Linked DNA regions of Homo sapiens: all the other regions are linked to region 1. The links are contacts of gene promoters, found by promoter capture Hi-C in human tissues and cell types (Jung and others, 2019). All regions are on one chromosome and are shown on one strand. Each heading gives the region's core, a stretch centred on a gene start or on the middle of the fragment in contact. The rest is flanking DNA. Distances are from core to core; before and after follow the strand shown.

Region 1 (3,117 bases), core at 373-2,872:
CAGCCCCCATCCCATCGTCCGCTCTGCACAAATGTTTCGCCAGTGGAGGGACGTAGGTTTTCAGCACCAGGAGGCTGTGGACCTTCTCTGGAGGCGTGAAGTGCACCCTCCGGAGGGCCAGAGCTGAGTGCAACCTGCTCACAACGACCCTCTCCCTCCTTCCCAAATTCGCCGCCCCAGGCTGTAATATTACATGCAGTGCGCTGTACCGGTGCGGGAGTCCAGGAAGGCTGCATGACCTTCCAGCGAACTCCCCCTCGGCTTGGGGGATGGAGGCTGCCCCGGGGCCTGCAGGCTGTGTATCGATCCCCCAGCCTCAGCCAACGCAAGTTCTCCCGACACAAACCCCTCCCTACCCTCTCGGCTTTCCCAGCCTTGCAGGCGTCTAACGCTATGCTCGAGGCGCCCTCCCCTCTTTCCCGCAATAAAGTAAACCCGGTGGATATTCATTCCCCTCCCTAACTCGCCTCCTTCTTTCCCCCTCCCCCCTCAGCTTACTAACCCCGCGCACAGAGCTCGCCGCCGGCGGGCCCCTTCCACCCAGTGTATCATAATGCCCAACGCTCTCCTCCTCCCCCTCTCTTAATCAGAAACGTGCTCGCGAGCCCCCCTCCCTCTGCGTGCATACATTAGGGTCTGCTTTGCATGCAGCGGCAGGCAGAGACCGGAGGAAGAAGGGGCGGGGGCGCTTTTGCCCGCCTCTTCCCTCCAGGCCCCGTTAGCCACCCAGCTTCAGCTTCGTTGTAACACCGCGTCGTTAGCGGAGCACGCCGTGGCCTCAGTGCCCGGGCTGGAGAAACACAACCCAACTCCCTGCAGAAGGGCACGAAAGCCAGACGAGTGCACAGTAGAGCGAGGAGGTGGCAGGAGACCTGCCACTCGGTGTGTGCTTTTTGGAAAGAGCTCCAGCATGAAAATGGGAGGGGCTCCTTTTTTATTTTTTAAAGTGCGTTCATTGAGGGCCTTTCTGTTTTGCATATAGTAAACTGGGCAGCGCTTCTGTTTTGCATGTAGTACAATAAGGGCTCTTTTATTCTAGAAGCGTTCAATTCGGGCTAACCCATCTTGTATCCGTGCCCTGGGGCGGAGGAGAAGGCTCACTGCTCCCCGACCCAGCCGCCGCGTTATACTGGAAGCTGCTCTCCCGGGCTGTTCGATTCCCAGCGCGTCCCGGGAACGTGTGTAATCGGCCTCTCGGCGCTCAAGGCTGCAGGCGGCCCGGCTCCCTACGCCTCCATCCTCCGCGTAGTCCTCGCCCCCTCCCCCTCTCTCCGGAACCCGCGCTCTGCTCCGGGCTCCCGGGCTTCCTTCCCCCCTCCTTTTCCCGAGCAATGCCTCTCCCGGAGGGCGGGGCATGCAGTTATCCAGGTTGCGGGGCCGGCGGGCGGGCAGGAGGCGGCGGCCCGGGCCTCGGGATGGAGTTGCAGCGCCCAGGCGTCAGAGGCGGAGGCCCGAGGCCGCTATACAGATTGCGGGGCTGGCGGGCGCGGCCCGGCGCTCTGCATAGCGGCCGGCAGGGTGCAGGCGGCCGGGCGGCGCAGAGCTGGTTAGGCAGGTTCCGGGGCCCCGTGCCCCCCCCTCCGCCTCCCCGCCCCCCTGTGTTGTCGCCTCTCCCTCTCGCTGCTTCACTTCACGGGGCGAACATGGCGCACAGCTGTCGGTGGCGCTTCCCCGCCCGACCCGGGACCACCGGGGGCGGCGGCGGCGGGGGGCGCCGGGGCCTAGGGGGCGCCCCGCGGCAACGCGTCCCGGCCCTGCTGCTTCCCCCCGGGCCCCCGGTCGGCGGTGGCGGCCCCGGGGCGCCCCCCTCCCCCCCGGCTGTGGCGGCCGCGGCGGCGGCGGCGGGAAGCAGCGGGGCTGGGGTTCCAGGGGGAGCGGCCGCCGCCTCAGCAGCCTCCTCGTCGTCCGCCTCGTCTTCGTCTTCGTCATCGTCCTCAGCCTCTTCAGGGCCGGCCCTGCTCCGGGTGGGCCCGGGCTTCGACGCGGCGCTGCAGGTCTCGGCCGCCATCGGCACCAACCTGCGCCGGTTCCGGGCCGTGTTTGGGGAGAGCGGCGGGGGAGGCGGCAGCGGAGAGGTAAGGGGGCGAGGAACCCCCAGGTCCGGGGTCTCGACCCTCTGCGGAGCCCCCTCCCCTCCCCCATCCGGGATTGAGGAGCATCCCAATTCTGGGACCATCTCGGGGTCCCTGACCCGGGGCGAATGGCTCTCCCATCTTGGGACCCCCATGCAGGGCTGCAGACCCCCAGGCGCCCCCACCCCGGGGTTTGGGCCCATCTGGCTGAGGGCGTTTGCCCCCCGCTCTCCTCCCCCTGACCCTTCCCCAAATCCCTTGGCACAGACCCCCTCGCCGGGGTTTCCCATCCCGGGACTGAACCCCTCCTCCCTTTCACAGATTACCTCATCCGAGCAAGATTCCTCCCTCCCTCCCTCCTAGAGACCTGATCCCGCCACATCCCCGCCTCCCTCTCTGGGCAGATGTGTTACTCCTAGGGCAGTTTTCCTCTCGGGCGTCTCTCGGGTGATGGCCTCATCCAGGGCCACGTTCTCCTGGCCCTTGGGGATCGTGTCCCTTCCAGCACCTTGCTTTCGAAAACCCGATGAACCCTCGCGCCATCCCCGGGCCAGGTCCCTATACTGCCAGCCACTCCCCCTTCCTTCACCTCCACCCTCTACCCCCACCCCAAGCAGACCGATCCTCCCCCATCCCGCCCTACCCCACCGGGGAAAATCTCTCCTCTGCACCTTGCCTGGTCTCACCTCCTTTCCCTCTGAAGATAACGGTGATTCCTCATACAGCAGTCTCTTCCCCCCCCCGCCCCGTCTTACAGGGCTACAGTTTCTAGCCTATTGGTAGCCGGGAATTACTCTACCTTCACTCCACCCTTTCCCTCCTTTAGAATGAAGGATTAGTGGCATCTTGGAGGGGAAAATAGTCCACTGTCCCCTAGGCTTAGAGAAGAGCAGCTTTCCACCACTCCCCTTGGAGAGGAGGCAGGCTTTCCCTCCAGCTCTGGGGAAGGGGGCCCCTGTGAGGGGAGGTGTTTGTTGGGGGACTGAGGCAGCATCCTCCCAGGGGAAGCAGCTGCTCTCCTACCCCACCCACTGCGCCTGAGAGC
Region 2 (3,117 bases), core at 402-2,901, 430 kb before region 1:
TAAGCAGTTTTTAGAAATATAATAATGATCCTCCCATCTGCTCCCACTTTGAGTTTCTCAGACCCCTGGAGCAGAGAGTGGAGCACCAGAGACTCTGGCCTCCTGGCTCCTGGCACCAGGCCCCCTCCAATGCCACTGGCATGGGACAAGACCATTAAGATTTGAAGAAGAACCTAGAGGAGAGAAAAGCTCCCTCTTCACCTGCCAGCCTTGTCACGGTTTTGATCATTCCTTAGGTTATCCTTTAAGATAGAAAAATCGTCATCTGTGTGCTCTCTCTCAGAAATGTAACTGATCATGAGCACAAGGTTGAATGTAGTCAAGGATGGGGAGAGATCAAAAGTTTTGGTTTTCAGAGCACCTAGGATTGCACCAGGGATGAAGCAATGCCCAAGATGTTCTGAAGAGAGATTTCAACACAATTTCCTGAGAAGTTCCTGGCTATGGCCAGAGCCATGCAAAGTACCGTGGAGAACTCAGAAGAGGTTTAAAACCTGATTCTGCCTGCAAGAAATGCCCATCAAATAGGAGAAAGCAAGGTTAATTTCAGGGAGACTGGATGCCCCCATGGTGCCTAGCATAGTTCCTGGCATGTTATGGAAGCAGCGTGAATAAATGAATGCAAAGAAATAATCAATAATAAAGTTATGGGGGCCTGAGACTATCTGTATTTAAAATCAGCAGAGCACAAGATCCATGGGTCTTACAGAAGTCTCCCTGGAGAAGGGAAATTTGAGCTGGCATGAAGAATGGGCAGAATTTGGTGATTTGGAGGTCAAGGAAGTTCTAAAAAAACAAAAGGAAGAAAGAGGAGTGGGTCAGTGGGAAGCTCAGAGCTGAGGATGGGGCCTGGGGAGGACTGGGCTCCTGAGCGCCCTTCTCACCACACAAGGAGACCCCAAAAAGAGATTAGAGACCATCTGGAGGGAGGAGTATGTTCTTGGGGGCCAAGGATGTTAGGATAGCTGCCAGTTTGGACTGAGGCTAGAAGTGGGTGACAAAGGACTATAAAGAAAATAGATTCTTGCTTGGCCTTGAACAAATCACTTCACGGCACTCTGGGCCTCTGTTCCCTCACCTGTGAGGCTGTGAGGATGAAGACGCGCATCATAAGCCTCTGCCCTGCACTGATATGTGCTCAGCAAATGTTAGCGTTTCACCCTACAGGTAAAGTTGGTTGGGAATGGGCCAGACTTGGAACCTGGTCAGACACACGCAGAGTCAAGGAAAGGCTAAGTAATGCTTAGAATCCTAGACCACTAGGGAACTGCAGCCATCACCTTTCAACTGCCATCTCCTAAATTAGAAAGATATATTGACACTTTGTACTTGCATCTTTTAATTGTTTACTGAGCACCTACTATGGACCAGGCTATACGCTAAGAACTGAGAATGCAGACGCTTTAAAAAAAAAAAAAAAAAAAGTAGATGAGGTCTTTGCTCTCCTACAGGTAAGAACCAGGAGAAGCCTTGGAAAAATAGTCCAATCTTTTGATTCCAGATGCTGAAATAGATGTCCAAAGAGGTGGAGTAAGTAGCCCATGACCACACAGCACATCAGGGCAGGGTCAGAACCAGACCTTATACTACATTCAGTTCTCATCCTTACGCCCTGATGTCAGCTACATCCGTGAGGGTGCAGACTCTGCTCAGCTCTGGTGCAGCCAGTAGCCAGTTGTGGAACTTGGGTAAAGCATGCTGCTTTTCTGACCCAAGTGCCCCCATATGTAAAACGGGACCAAGAATAATCCCTGTGTCTCAAGCTTGACATAAGGCTCAAAATGCAGTACCATGCAAGAAAAGGCTTTGTGTTCTGTGGACTGTGAACTGTGCAAACAGTCTCTGCTCCTCCTTTTGATCACTAAGCAGTTTTTAAAAAGATAATAATGATCCTCCCATCTGCTCCTACTTTGAGTTTCTCAGACTCCTGAAGCAGAGAGAGGGGCACCAGAGACACTGCCCTCCTGGCTCCTGGCACCTGGCCCCCTCCAATGCCACTGGCATGGGACGAGATCATTAAGACTTCAAGGAGAACTTAGAGGAGAGAAAAGCTCCCTCTTCGCCTCCCAGCCTCATCATGATTTTGATCAATTTTCTAGGACAAAGCAGCCTTCTGTGGCTACATTGGGTGTCTCTTCTCTACTCGGCAAGTAGTCACTGACCTCCTCCAGCACGCTCCAGTTTTAGGAGTTACTAAAGACCTATGGAACATAACTTTGTTGGCAGAGGGTTCAGCCTGGTTGAGGAACAGCACAAATGGAGGAAATGTGGCCACCTGCAATTCAGATCAAAATGGTTGGTGTCAAGTCTCAAGCCCTGAGCGAAGTCACAGCAAAGACGGACTTGGGCCATCTCACAGAGACTAGATATGGCCAGGAGGGGAGGGGCTGCAGGGACAAGAGGCCACCCAGGCTGGAGAATAGCCCCAGAGAAGGCACCAAAGCGTGGCAGGGGAACCCGGACCAGCCAGCCCTTGGACCCCCAGCCCCCGTGACTGCCTCTGGGCTCTTAGGGCCAGTGGAAAGAAGAACCGTAAAAAGGTAGCGGGAAGGTGTTGGGAGAGGCTCTGGCACTGCTATGATCTGGGTCCCAGCCAGTGCCTGGCTCAGCCAAACCTGTGGCTGGGTTTCCAGGCATCTGCTCCCGAATCGTTTCTAAACAAGCTGGAATCTGCCCTTTAGAGCCCTCAACAGAAACACGCAAAGTCCAGGGGTAAGGCCCAGGCCCCAAGGGTGAAGAAAGCTGTGCTCGCCAGTAGCCTGCGGAAGTAAGGAAAAGAGGGGGAGGCTGAGGGGACAGAGGGTGCGTCAGAGGGCCCTAAAAGAGGAAGTCGCCCAGTATCAGTTCTGCTCCCGAGGATGGGAAATACCCTCCGTGCTCCCAGCCCCGGGCAGCTGTCCCCGTCTCCTCACCTGAAGCCACAGACCTGGGGCCAGGGCCACCTGGGTCCTGGGTCCCATCCTCCCTTTCAAGATTCCCCAAGGCTACTGAGTTCTGAGCACTTCCGGGGGCCTAGGGTGGCCGGGCATGGACTGCAGACCCAGGATCCCTGCTAGGCAGGGTGCGGGTACAGAGTTTTATTGGGGCCGGGCCAGGTGCAGCAGCTGACACCTATAA
Region 3 (3,117 bases), core at 229-2,728, 260 kb before region 1:
AGCAACCTATGAGGTAATTATTTTCTTCTTGGTTTTTTTTTTTTTTTTTAAGTGTCTAAACAGATGAACTGTCTCCCGGGGCAGCCCCTGCCTCCCAGGTGAGTGTGGCATCCAGCCCGTATCTCCGCACCTGCACTGCCTTACCATCCAGACCCTTCCTGCTCAAGGGCCTCCCCAACCCCGGCCACTCCAGTCCATCCCCGTGCAGCCAGGAGCAACCCACCCTCATCACTCCTCACCTCCAGACCTCCAACGGCTACCCACTGCTTTCAGGATCAAGTCCAGGCTCCTGGGCACAGCTTCCAAGCCCTTTGGCATCTGGGACCAACCTATACCCTAGCCTCATCCCCTGCCAGCCCCCATCCCCCCAGGTCTCCTTCACTCCAGTGACCCCAGTTCTGATTTTTTCTGAAAACACCACCTTCCTTCCCTTCTCCATGCCTTTGCACGTATTTTTGCTTCAGGTTGAGAAGCTCATTTGCCCTCCTGCCCCTGGGCCCCTCCTACTTATTCTTCAGGTCCCAGCTTACAGGGCATTAGCCTCGGTGACTGTTTCCCCATTGTCCTTGTCCTCACCCCAGCCCTGTTCCTATCTCTTCCACATGACTTGAGGGCAGAATGGCAGGATAGTTAACCTCCCAGTGCCTCAGTTTCCTCATCTGTAATATAGGGGACAATAAGCCCAACTTCATAGGGCTGTCGAAGGATTAAATGACTTACTACCTGTATGAAGCTCAGCACAGTGCCTAGCACATGGCCTGGACAAAAGTCAGCTGCGACTATGATGAGCATTATTGCTATTATTGTTGCCATACATACAATGTTGTCTTGTTATTATTTGTTCATGGGCCTGTTTCCCTCTAGAGGCTCCGGGGAACTGACTCCTATTCATCTTGGTATCCCTGGCACCCAGGACAGTGTGTGGCAGAGTGGGGACTCAATAAAGTCTACTAAAGGAAGAAGAGACAGCTTTCTCTCCATGTCTGGGTCCCCACCACCACAAGCAGCAGATATGTGCAGTGGGCTAGAGTGAGGACTAGACTTCACTTTCTTTCTTTCTTTCTTTCTTTCTTTTTTTAAGAGACAGGGTTTGGTTCTGCTGCCCACGCTGGAGTGCAGAGGCATGATCACGGCTCACTGCAGCCTGGAACTCTTGATACTCCTTCTTCAGCCTCCTGGAACAGTTAGGACTACAGGTACATGCCACCATGCCTGGCTTATTTTTCTTTTCTTTTTTTTTTTTTTTTTTTTTTTTTTTTTGTAGAGACAGGGTCTTGCTATGTTGTCCAGGCTGGTCTCCAATTCCTGGCCTCAAGCGATCCTCCCACCTCGGCCTCCCAAAGCACTGGGATACAGGCGTGAGCCACCATGCTCAGCCCAGACTCCACTTTCTATGCCTCCACTAACATAATCCATACATTGGTAAGCAGGCCAGTGACTGTGGAGTCAACGGTCTCAAGAAAAACTTGAGGGAAGCCCAGTCATTTGAATTGTTTCTGGCTAAAACTAGCCTCATATGCTTCTGCCGTGGGTAGAGCTGGTTGCCCACCTGCCCTTTCTCTTTGCCACCTCCATAGTCATCCCCACAAGCCCAGCCCCGACAGAGTCCCCTCCCTCGTCACTTGTGGCATCCTCCATCCTGGGGATCGATGCTACTGCAACACCACCAAAGTTCCACTGTCAACTCGGCCCTCAGCATTGGAGTGCCAGGGACATGCCTCATTACAGCACCAATCAAGTTCAAGTTCAAGGTCCCCATTCCTGCATCCTCTCCCACTCAGCTTTGCAGAAGCTTTAGCTTCCTCCCACTACCATCTCCCCACCCCAAACACTCAGACCTCTTCATCGCAGACTCCCTCTTCCTCACCCTAGCCCAGAGCTCTGGGTCCTGGTCACTGAGCCCCCTTTCTATCTTTACTTAGCCATGGCTCTCACCAGGCGGCTTCTCTCCTGCACGAAGTGCTTCCTAACTCCTGAGGAAAGGGTCCTGTCCTCCAGCTGGGCCTCCTTACAACAGGCCACTCACCCAACTCCCCTTCTTTCAGCCTGTCCTGAGACTCTGATCAATTAGGTACTGTTAATATAGCAGTGCCATTTCTTGAACATTGGGGAGTGGAATCCAACGTTTAAGAGAATGTGCTGAAGTCAGACACAGGGAGTTCAAATTTCAGCTCCCGTTACCATAGTCATCTGTTTCCTCCCTGTAACCTGAGTATAATAGAATCTACCTCCGATTGCTGTGAGGGCTAAACAAGATACACAGTGCCTGGGCTCACGAAAAGCATTCTTATGTTAGCCATCGTTGAGTTCCTGCCATGCACCAAATCACAAACACGTCAGGCAGTAGGCATTCTTTAGTTTACCCGGGAGGGAACTGAAGCTCAGAGGGGTTGAGTAACTTGCCTGTGATCATTACGTAAATGACAAAGGTGGCTTGAAACCCAGGTCCTGCCAGAGATTCCATAGCATTCCTGCTCTGATGTTAATATGCCAAGTAACTCAGCAAAGCAGGCTGGCAGGGCCTCTGCACTGTCTGTGTTTAGCACTCCTACTCCAAACCCAGCACATCACACCACAGAAAGAGAGAGAGCCTTTGTGGTGGGGAATAGTTCCATCAACAGTCCTTGGACTTGACTCTCAGTTGCTGCTCCAGCAATAAGTAAGTTTAGGAGCAAGAATGAAACTCTACAAAGCAGGCTTGCAAATAACTTTCTAGCCCACTTCCCCACCAGGAAGTCTCTGAGTGGTCAAATACAAACACTTGACAGGACAGTCTGCAAGACTGGGCTGGGCAGTTCTGAGGCTGGATTTAAAGGGCTGCAACCTCGCTCAGCCTGTGGGTTCCATTTTTTTCCTGAATCTCTACACCTGGCCCTTCCTCCATTCCATCCGGCCCAAGCCAAAGGTGCCTTCTCCATCAGTGCGTGCCTCAGCAGGTCTCCTCCCAACCCAGACATCATTCCCCAAGCCCGCTTCCCACCTACTCCCACACACGTTCCAACAGATCAGTGAGACCGAGTGCCAAGAAGCCAGACCCAGACTCAACTTTCTGCCACCAGCTCCCCTGCACACTCTCCTAATACCCTAAATCCACCAGGATCAAGCTTCTGAAAAGAA

The links. Contacts are between HindIII fragments. The study calls those that stand out against the background at their distance.
Region 2: a contact is called between a fragment that was not itself captured here and the fragment with the promoter of KMT2A in region 1, in 1 of the 25 tissues and cell types used here (spleen).
Region 3: a fragment that was not itself captured here is called in contact with the fragment with the promoter of KMT2A in region 1 in 3 of the 25 tissues and cell types used here (IMR-90 fibroblasts, dorsolateral prefrontal cortex and spleen).

The regions. Positions count from the first base shown.
Region 1 is chr11:118,434,870-118,437,986 of GRCh38, forward strand. KMT2A (lysine methyltransferase 2A) reads left to right here and starts at 1,623. Exons shown (of 36, transcript NM_001197104.2): 1 at 1,623-2,075. The coding sequence starts at 1,644. RefSeq lists enhancers at 595-1,592, 792-931, 1,593-2,591, 2,592-3,117 and a silencer at 1,242-1,721. The HindIII fragment of the contact is 10,858 bases long and covers 1-3,117 here.
Region 2 is chr11:118,008,321-118,011,437 of GRCh38, forward strand. All of the region lies in intron 4 of SMIM35 (small integral membrane protein 35), which reads right to left. Among named protein-coding and RNA genes, the nearest start is that of IL10RA, 23 kb to the left of the region's middle. RefSeq lists a silencer at 1,596-1,645 and enhancers at 2,170-2,269, 2,415-2,915. The HindIII fragment of the contact is 3,617 bases long and covers 1-3,117 here.
Region 3 is chr11:118,172,861-118,175,977 of GRCh38, forward strand. All of the region lies in intron 1 of SCN2B (sodium voltage-gated channel beta subunit 2), which reads right to left. Among named protein-coding and RNA genes, the nearest start is that of SCN2B, 2.2 kb to the right of the region's middle. The HindIII fragment of the contact is 3,855 bases long and covers 1-3,117 here.